Regions from separate parts of the Homo sapiens genome. Here regions 2 and 3 are each linked to region 1. Evidence: promoter capture Hi-C in human tissues and cell types (Jung and others, 2019). All regions are on one chromosome and are shown on one strand. Each heading gives the region's core, a stretch centred on a gene start or on the middle of the fragment in contact. The rest is flanking DNA. Distances are from core to core; before and after follow the strand shown.

The links. Contacts are between HindIII fragments. The study calls those that stand out against the background at their distance.
Region 2: a contact is called between a fragment that was not itself captured here and the fragment with the promoter of VPS29 in region 1, in 1 of the 25 tissues and cell types used here (dorsolateral prefrontal cortex).
Region 3: a contact is called between a fragment that was not itself captured here and the fragment with the promoter of VPS29 in region 1, in 2 of the 25 tissues and cell types used here (dorsolateral prefrontal cortex and hippocampus).

What each region holds. Positions count from the first base shown.
Region 1 is chr12:110,500,518-110,503,566 of GRCh38, reverse strand. VPS29 (VPS29 retromer complex component) reads left to right here and starts at 1,456. Exons shown (of 4, transcript NM_016226.5): 1 at 1,456-1,518. The coding sequence starts at 1,516. It overlaps RAD9B (RAD9 checkpoint clamp component B), which reads right to left and starts at 1,236. Exons shown (of 11, transcript NM_001286535.2): 1 at 1,184-1,236. The coding sequence starts at 1,229. RefSeq lists an enhancer at 1,488-1,627. The HindIII fragment of the contact is 3,487 bases long and covers 411-3,049 here.
Region 2 is chr12:110,038,318-110,041,366 of GRCh38, reverse strand. ANKRD13A (ankyrin repeat domain 13A) reads right to left here. Exons shown (of 15, transcript NM_033121.2): 15 at 1,604-3,049. C12orf76 (chromosome 12 open reading frame 76) reads left to right here. Exons shown (of 2, transcript NM_001389625.1): 2 at 1-190. Among named protein-coding and RNA genes, the nearest start is that of C12orf76, 8.7 kb to the left of the region's middle. The HindIII fragment of the contact is 4,630 bases long and covers 1-3,049 here.
Region 3 is chr12:110,058,093-110,061,141 of GRCh38, reverse strand. It overlaps a transcript of C12orf76 not described here. Among named protein-coding and RNA genes, the nearest start is that of C12orf76, 11 kb to the right of the region's middle. The HindIII fragment of the contact is 4,989 bases long and covers 1-3,049 here.

The DNA of each region.
Region 1 (3,049 bases), core at 207-2,706:
ATATGTTTACAGTGTTGCATGGAGCTACTGTGCAAACCAATTTCCATACTAATGTATTTTACAACTTGATTTAGATAAATGTATTTGACCCCCCAAAAACTGTGAAAACAGTGCATGGAGAAGATAATCTGAAGTGGTTTTAATAGCTTGATAGCCAAGTCACAACAAGTCATGAGAGAGAAATTAGGGGTATCCAACATACATCTCTGATGTTTGAGGGCAGCCAGATTTCCCCACCACAGAACACATTTAGGGCTGGAAAACACACTAGTCTGATCCCGTACGACATTGTTAATGTTCTTTTTATTTTTTATTTTTTTTGAGACAGAGTCTCACTCTGACACTCAGGCTGGAGTGCAGTGGCACGAGCTCAACTCACTGCAGCCTCAACCTCCCGGGCTCAATCGATCCTCTCGCCTCAGCCTTCCAAGTAGCTTGGGATTACAGGCGCCCACCACTAAGCCCGGCTAATTTTTGTATGTTTAGTAGAGACGGGGTTTCATCATGTTGGTCAGGGTGGTCTCGAACTCCCGACCTAAGGTGATCCACCCGCCTTGGCCTCCCAAAGTGCTAGGATTACAGGCGTGAGCCACTGCACCCGGCCTAACTTCCATTTTGAAAGCGCCGTTTACAACACTAATAGTTCTTGTACATTCCATCTATTACTGGGCTCTTTACACGCATTTCCATTTCATTGCCTCCAAACAAACTCTGTGACGAAGGTGCTGTCATTACCCCTGTTTCCGTTTTAGAAACTGAGCCCCAAAGAGATTTAGTGACTTTTCCAAGTTCATACATTTTTAAAAATGGTAGAATCTGGGGAAAAAAAAAACCAGGTTAATGCTGTTCTCTTGGCACAAAAATACTTTTACTGTCCAAGCATTATTTTTTTCTCTCAACTCTTCCCCATGCAGTCCTCAGCATCCCGAGTTTGTGGCCCGATGGTACAACTCTATTTCCCGGATACCACCCATATTACATCTGCCTCTAAGTCACACGAGATGGGTCCTCATCCTCCCCTCAGAAGTTAACAGGGACTTGAGTGGGTGGGGCTGTGGCCAGGGCGTGCGTCCTCAGTCATTGCGCAAAAAGGCAAAGAGGAAAAATTAGACAATGGTAGGGACGACCTATTAACGTCTGCTTTTCTCTCTGCTAAATGGGAAGACAACAAAGGCCGCTCCACCTTTCACCTGACTGCCGCTCATCACGCACTTCAGCATGGCTGCCATCCGCCCTAAAAAGCAGGCTCGGAAGGCGCGCCTCAGCTCGACGGCCCAGGTGCCCGGATGTTGCCCGCGCTTTTCAAAGCTTCGCGATCTCGTCTCTGCACTCTACCACCCCGCCTCCACAAGTTCCCAAACGGCTTTACGGCGGAGAAGGGTCCGTGCGGGCCTCCGTACGGCAATTTCTGTCTCCCTCTGCTCTCATTGGTTGCGGTTAAGTGGGCGGGTCGCCGAGGAGCCTGAGGAAGAGGGCGGCGACGGTGGTGGTGACTGAGCGGAGCCCGGTGACAGGATGGTGAGGGCTGCAGTTGCGGCGACCAAGGCCTGGCTCTCGGGTGGGGTGCTGCGTTGTTGGGAGCCGTGGGGAGGCCGAGGGCGAGGAATTGGGAAATCCCGGAGGCCTCGGCGTCAGGGCCCAGGCGCTGGCCTGGGAAAGGCCCAGAAGAGGTCTAGGGAAGGAAGGGAGCGGCCACCTCTGGGTGCGGCTGGCCTAGGTCTCGTATCCCGGCCCCAAGGGGCCAGAGGCCATCCAAGGGGTAAAAAGGCCCCTCTAGCAGCCCGACCTGTCACGAGACACGCACGCCCGAGCCAGGGAAGGCCTTTGGTCCTATACCTCGAATGTTCCGGGGATAGGGGCACGGTCCTCCGTTTCCAGACGGTTCCTACTCGTTTCCCGCAAAAAGCACCTCCCGCTGGTTGGGGTGTAGTGGTGGAAGCTGGCCTCTCGAATGCAGAACAGGAAGTAGCGAGCAGAATTTCGTACCCGTTTAACTTTGCCATCTAGGGAAAGGGAATAAACCACCCTCCTCGCTCCTGAAATAACATCTAGCTGCCATTGAGATGAGCAGGTGTGCTCTCAGAGGGCGGGATTTGGCGCTTGCAATTGCTGGAACTGTTTCTTTCCACGGGTTGCTACGCCTCTTTAGGGTAGGATTCCTTAATGATGTGTGAACTCATTGAAACTGTTGGGAAATTTTTGTGAATATACACATTTTTCTGGGGAGAGTGCCGGTGTTGGAGACTTACCTAGTCTCCCCCAGCCACCTTCAAGCAATCACCCCTTCACCCCCAGTAGTTTGGTGCCCCTCAGACCTTCCTACATAAAAACTGGGGGCCTCTACTAGAGAGGACTCAGAGCTGTAATCATATTTTCTTTCTTTCTTTTTGAGATGGAGTCTCGCTCTGTCGCCCAGGCTGGAGTGCAATGCCGCGATCTCGGCTCACTGCAATGCCGCCCGGGTTCAAGCCTCAGCTCCTGCCTCAGCCTCCCGAGTAGCTGGGATTACAGGCGCCCGCCACCAAGCCCGTCTAAATTTTTGTATTTTTAGTAGAGACGGGGTTTCACCATGTTGGTCAGGCTGGTCTCTACCTCCCGACCTCAGATGATCCACCCGCCTCGGCCTCCCAAAGTGCTGGGGTTACAGGCGTGAGCCACCGCGCCCGGCCTGTAATCATATTTTCAAAGGTGCCTTTGACTCTTAAAAAGTCAATTGTTTGGGGCAACCCACTCGGGTCCCCTTCCACCCTGTGTAAGCTTTGTTCTTTCGCTCTTCACAATAAATCTTGCTGCTGCTCAAAAAAAAAAAAAAAATCAATTGTTTGAAATGGAGCTGTGATTATCTTCATATTTGTGTTGATGGAGGTTGGCTGTAAAGGGACGTCTACCTCTGACAGGCATTTATTGCATTCTTTTTTATTTTTACAAGGAAACCAAAGAAGCTATGCATTTTTAAGATTATTACTATTGCATGACAAACAGCCTTTTCAAGAGGGGGACTTACAGACATGGCAGCCAGAGATTTATGGTGCATGCTTCTTTAAAATCT
Region 2 (3,049 bases), core at 301-2,800, 460 kb after region 1:
AAATTGAAATGCTTATCTTGTGTTCAAGCACAGCACTGATTTTAACAACCTGCATTTAATGTGAAGTAACCGAAGTAGGATACTGTAACTGTGTAAGGATTTTGTTTGTAATCTTGTAACATTGAACCATTGAAATGTTCAGTTCTTTGCTTTTGAGCAAAACGTCAATTAAAACTAAAGTAAAATCCTATATATTGTTTTACTCCACCAGTTATTTCCCAAGTGTTTGAAATGCAGGTGTGTGTCTGAATTTGATCTAATCACTTAAAGAAGCTCTGTGAAGTGAAATTTCTTTTTTTGAGACGGAGTTTGGTTCCTGTTGCCCAGGCTAGAGTGCAATGGTGCATTGTTGGCTCACTGCAACCTCCACCTCCCGGGTTCAAGCGATTCTCCTGCCTCAGCCTCCAGAGTAGCCAGGATTACAGGCATGAGCCACCATGCCTGGCTAATTTTTTTGTATTTTTAGTAGAGATGGGGTTTCACCATGTTGGCCAGGCTGGTCTCAAACTCCTGACCTCAGGTGATCCACCTGCCTTGGCCTCCCAAAGTGCTGGGATTACAGGCGTGAGCCACTGCGCCTGGCCTAAAGTTGAGATAAAAGTCTCCTAGTGCTGCCTATGATTTAGTGACTGTGGAGTCATATCAGCATGTTGTATTTTTTTCCACCTGGACCTCAGGCTTAAACCTACACATATTTCTAAACAGAGGCCTAGGTGGTACTTTGAACTTCATCACTCACTGTACCACTGAATCACTTGAAATCTCCACATCCAGTTCATCTTCCTTGATGTCATTTGTGGTCAGCAGGAGACTGCGACCAAGCTGGCAGTTATGGCAGTTTCCCTTTCCTGTCATTATTTAGAGCAGACTTTCAATCCCTTGACATGCCACGTTTATGTAGTGTGACAAGCTTGTTTATAGAGCAGAGTGCCTTAGGAACTTAGTTCCTAGCAGTGTCTAACGTGCAGAAGTTGCTCAATTAAAGTTTCTGGCCGAGTGCGGTGGCTCATGCCTGTAGTCTCAGCACTTTGGGAGGCCGAGGCGGGTGGATCACCTGAGGTCAGGAGTTCGAGACCAGCCTGGCCAACATGGTGAAACCCCGTCTCTACTAAAAATACAAAAATAAGCCAGGCATGGTGGCACACGCCTGTAATCCCAGCTACTCGGGAGGCTGAGGCAGGAGAATCGTTTGAACCCGGGAGGCAGAGGTTGCAGTGAGCCAAGATCGCGCCATTGCACTCCAGCCTGGGCAACAAGAGCAAAACTCCGTCTCAGGAAAACAAACAAACAAAAAAAAAAAACCACTTCCTGCTGATATTGGGCCACTCAAGCTTAGCTTTTCAGTTTTTAAATAATCCATAGTCATTGCACCTCTTGACCTGAAAGAGTAATGGTTTTCTTCATAGTGTCCTTGTGGCTTCAAAGTATTGATATCTACTTTCCCCTAAAAGCAAAGCAGCTCCTTTACATCTTCCCAGAAATACAGCCTCATTTCTGGAACCCATACATTTCTACTGGCCACTGCCTTTGTTGTTTTTAATACCCGCTTATTTAGATATAGGAAGAGTTTGGAAGCCTTATCATCTGGACTTCTAGGAACAGCCTCACAAAGCAGTTGGCTTCAAGGGATAGCATTGATGCAGAGCTTTGATGTTGGCTGGGCTTCCCTTACCCCACAAGAGCCAGTTCCCCTCCAGGAGGACCACAGAGGTGTCAGAACAGCCCAACACTGGCTTGCTTTTAGTTGCCATTTGAAACAAGCAGCATGGGGCTTGTTAACCTGGGCAGGAAGGCTGGGAGGAGCATGCCACCTTTGCAGTGATGAACTGAGCGAAGTGAGGCATTCTAATGTTCTACTGACATACGTAACAGGAAGTGTGGGTACATCCAGTGACTAGAAAAAACTGAAAAGGAAAAAGACTCAAAGACTGGAATTTTGTATGAGCACCCTCTAAGGAAGCAGTCTTTATTTGCATTTTTAGAGTGAACACATATATGAAAAACACTGCAACAGGTTGACACAATGCTCAGTCCCTTTTTAAGTGAATTCCTGGGGAGAAAGTCAAGGACCTTAGGGAGCAGAGCAGTGGAATGCAAACACAGAAATTACCTATGAGTCACTTTTGTGAGCCAATGACACGGCCTCACTGCAGCCATTCCAAGAAGTATCTTTGCTCACGGTAAATGCAAAGTAAACAAAATACCACACTGCATATTTGAAACAAACAAATGTGACGTTGCCTATACTGGCCTCATGTGCAGAAGGAATTTTGGTCAGACAATGACAAAAAAAAAAAACAAAACAGATTGTGAAATGGAATTAAAAGCACAATTCTTTGTATCTGGGAACGTTTCACTGGCAACACTAACTGTATGATACAGACGTTACCTGGAACAGTAGTTATGTTTCTCTTCCTATCCCCAAAGAAGCACAATAGAAGAAATAGACGCAAAATGGAGGAGGGTGTTGTTTACCAGGTTATTTCAGTGCAGCCTGTGGGAATGAATACACGGGCCACAGTGAGCAGTGCCCTTGGCTGTATTCCCCAGGGTTCTGTATGTTGTGCGATGGTTATATACAAGAGGGTTTGACAAAAGAGAGTTAACTACTAAAGGTATCCAAAAAAGGCCTGAGAAAATCTGGTTAAAATGTATAACCTTGTATTGCTACTGATGGGAGTTGTTTTTATATCTTTTACAAATAATAAAAAGATTGTTAAAAAATAGATTTATCCAGAAAGATGTTGATTTGAACTCTAAAAAGCAACGTGGAATCATTATTTTCCCTTTTGAATGAAGAGCCATGGAGCTCCGTGGTTTTCAGCTCCCTTTCTGGTTGCAAATCAATCCTTCCTCTGGAGTGAGTCTAGGGCATGCGGGCTCTTCCTAGGTGTCTACGTGGAAATCCTTCACTCATGCAGGTGTAGAACACACCTGGTTTGGTTCTGTGTGTTCCAATATTTTGGCCAGCTTGCCCACTTCAAGAACAAGCCTCAGGTTCCCCTAGCTGCTCCTTCAGGGACAGGATTAGCTGCCTTTGATTTAGCCT
Region 3 (3,049 bases), core at 275-2,774, 440 kb after region 1:
GTGGTTGGATATATGAATCTGGAGCTGAGATGTAGGTTTCTTTTTTTTTTTTTTTTTTGAGTCAGAGTCTCTGGTCTCCCCCACAGAGCTGGCTCTGCATGAATTACTCTTCCTCTATTGCAATGAGCTAAGGGATATGAGGGCAGTTGTGCGATCTTAGCTCACTGCATCCTCCGCCTCCCGGGCTCAAGTGATTCTCCTGTCTCAGCCTCCTGAGTAGCTGGGATTACAGGTGCCCGCCACCACACCTGGCTAATTTTGTATTTTTAGTAGAGATTGGGTTTCACCATGTTGGGCAGGCTGGTCTTGAACTCCTGGCCTCAGGTGATCCGCCCACCTCAGCCTCCCAAAGTGCTGGGATTTCAGGCATGAACCACTGCGCCTGGCCTGAGATGTAGGTTTCTATATCACCAGCATATAGATGGGAACTAGAACCATGGAAGAAGCTGCAATTCACCAGCAAGAGAAGAAGTAGATGAGAAAGCAAGAGGGCCTAGAACCGACCCCGGAGAAGGGCTAACCTTTAAGGGGTGGGAGTGCTGAAGTCCCCAAAGGATTCTGAGAAGGAGTAGCCACAGAGATCCAATGAAAGTCAGGCAAAGGTGGATTCCTGCAAGCTAAGGGAAGGAGGTGAGGGAGGTGGGGCATGGTCACAGTGTCAACTGGTGCTGAGAGTTCCAGGAAGATCAGCTATGTGGTGTGTCTATTGGATTTAGTGACAATGACGTTGTTGTTTACTTGGCAAGAGAGGCTTTAGAGAAGGGATGGGGGTGGGAGCCAGACTGGAGTGGGCGGAGGAGTGAATGGAGATGCAGAAATGGATATGATGACTCACTCTTTCAGGGGACTTGGCTATGAAGAAGAGAGGCATGGAGTGGTGGTAAGAGAATGTGGGATTGAAGAGGGGGTATTTTGGAGACAGAGTTTCACTCTTGTTGCACAGGCTGGAGTGTAATGGGGTGATCTCGGCTCACCGCAACCTCCGCCTCTGGGGTTCAAGCTATTCTCCTGCCTCAGCTTTCTGAGTAGCTGGGAATACAGGCATGTGCCACCATGCCTGGCTAATTTTGTATTTTTAGTAGAGAAATGATGTTAAGTGCAGATGGAAAGGGGACAGGAGAGAAAGGGAAGTTGATGTGGTAAATGAAAATTATCTTCATCATCTTCCTCACCATCACCAGCAGTAACCACAAGGAAAGCTTGTTCTGCTCTGGGACTGCCCTGTCACTTTTCTTCCTGAGAAAATGAGCCAAAATCTTTCCCCCTGTAACTTTCACCTTTGCTTAGTTTTGCCTTGTGTCCCTCTTCAAATGGCTGCACACTGCTACTATGTCTCTCCTCTTCTTCAAACTCACAGCCTCCATCCTACAGGCCATGTGCTCTCAGCCTGGCGACCAGACCCTCAACTGTCTCAACCAAGTTCACACCGCTTGTTTGTCAAGCCCCTCTTAAGAGGCAGTGTACACACTCTTGCTTTGGTGATGGAAGCATGAAATGGTTCAAGCATTTATGATTTAGGAAAATAAACTCAGATAGAAAATGTGCACACCCTTTGACCCAGAAGTCCTGTATAGACTTAATGCCTTAGGTGTGTGAAGAAGCTTGTGCAGGGATTTCTGGCAACATGAATGTGGGGTGGACAGACAGTGAGCACAGTTGTTAGGAGCATAGCCTGAGTGCATTCTTCCTGAGATCAGGAACAGGACGAGGATGCCCGCTTTCACCGCTGCTGTTCAACATTGTACTGGAAGTTCTAGCCAGAGCAATTAGACAAGAAAAGCAATAAAAGGCATCCAGATGGCAAAGAATGAAGTAAAACTATCTTTAATCACAGATGGCACAATCCCATATATGGAGAATCCCGAAGAATTCACAAGAAAACTATTAGATAGAGCTAATTAACCAATTCAGTAAAGTCGCAAGGAACAAGATCAACACACAAAAATTAATTGTGTGTGTGCATTTTTTTTTACACCAGCAAGGAACATTTGAAAAGGAAATTGGAAAAATAATTCCATTTACCATAGCATTTAAGAGAGCTGAGGCTGTGGAGCCAGATGGCTGCGTTCAGAGCTGGCGCTGCTGTTTACCATGTGACCTTGGACAAGCTTCTCGCTTCATTCATACCACAGTTTGTTCGGCTATTAGGTGGAGGTAATACTAGCACCTTCCTTATAGAGTTGGTTTTTGTTTTCATTTTTTTGGTGGGGGGGAGTAAGAATTGCAAAAGTTAATATATGTCAGCAAAATAGACTTAGAAGAGTGGTTGGCACATGGTAAGGACATATTAGGGTTACCAAAAATTGTTTATAATTGGGAAAATTGAACAAAAGTTACAGTTAAATATCTATCCCAGAGACTGACTGGCAAATTATCACAATGTACCTCTTAGCTTGAGCCATATGGAACTGCCTGTATTCTATAGCTATGGCCTACAAAATGGGCAGTTCTTTCTTTCTTTTCTTTTTTTTGGAGAGAGAGTCTCACTCTGTTGCCCAGGCTGAAGTGCAGTGCAGTGGCATGATCTCGGCTCACTGCAACCTCCGCCTTCCAGGTTCAAGTGATTCTCCTGCCTCAGCCTCCCAAGTAGCTGGGATTACAAGCATGCACCACCACAACTGGATAATTTTTGCATTTTTAGTAGAGACAGGGTTTCCGCCATGTTGGCCAGCCTGGTCTTGAACTCCTGGCCTCAAGTGATCTGCCCGCCTTGGCCTCCCAAAGTGCTGGGATTACAGGCGTGAGGCACCATGACCTGCCAAAATGGGCAGTTTCATATATTCAATCACTAGGATACTCTTTAGCCACTGAAAATGATTGTGTATCATAGATCTATCTTTATCACAGATATCTTTACTGTCATAGAAAGAATTAATAACATATTATTGAGTAAAAATAGCAAGTTACAAAACAGCCTGCAGCCTGTAGTGTGGCCACGTTTGTAACATCAGTATATCTGTTTGTGTGTCTAGGTGTGGACATAAAGAGATATCTAGAAGACACTCAAAAGTTTCAACAATGATTGCCTGAGTGATTTGTGCTGGGATCT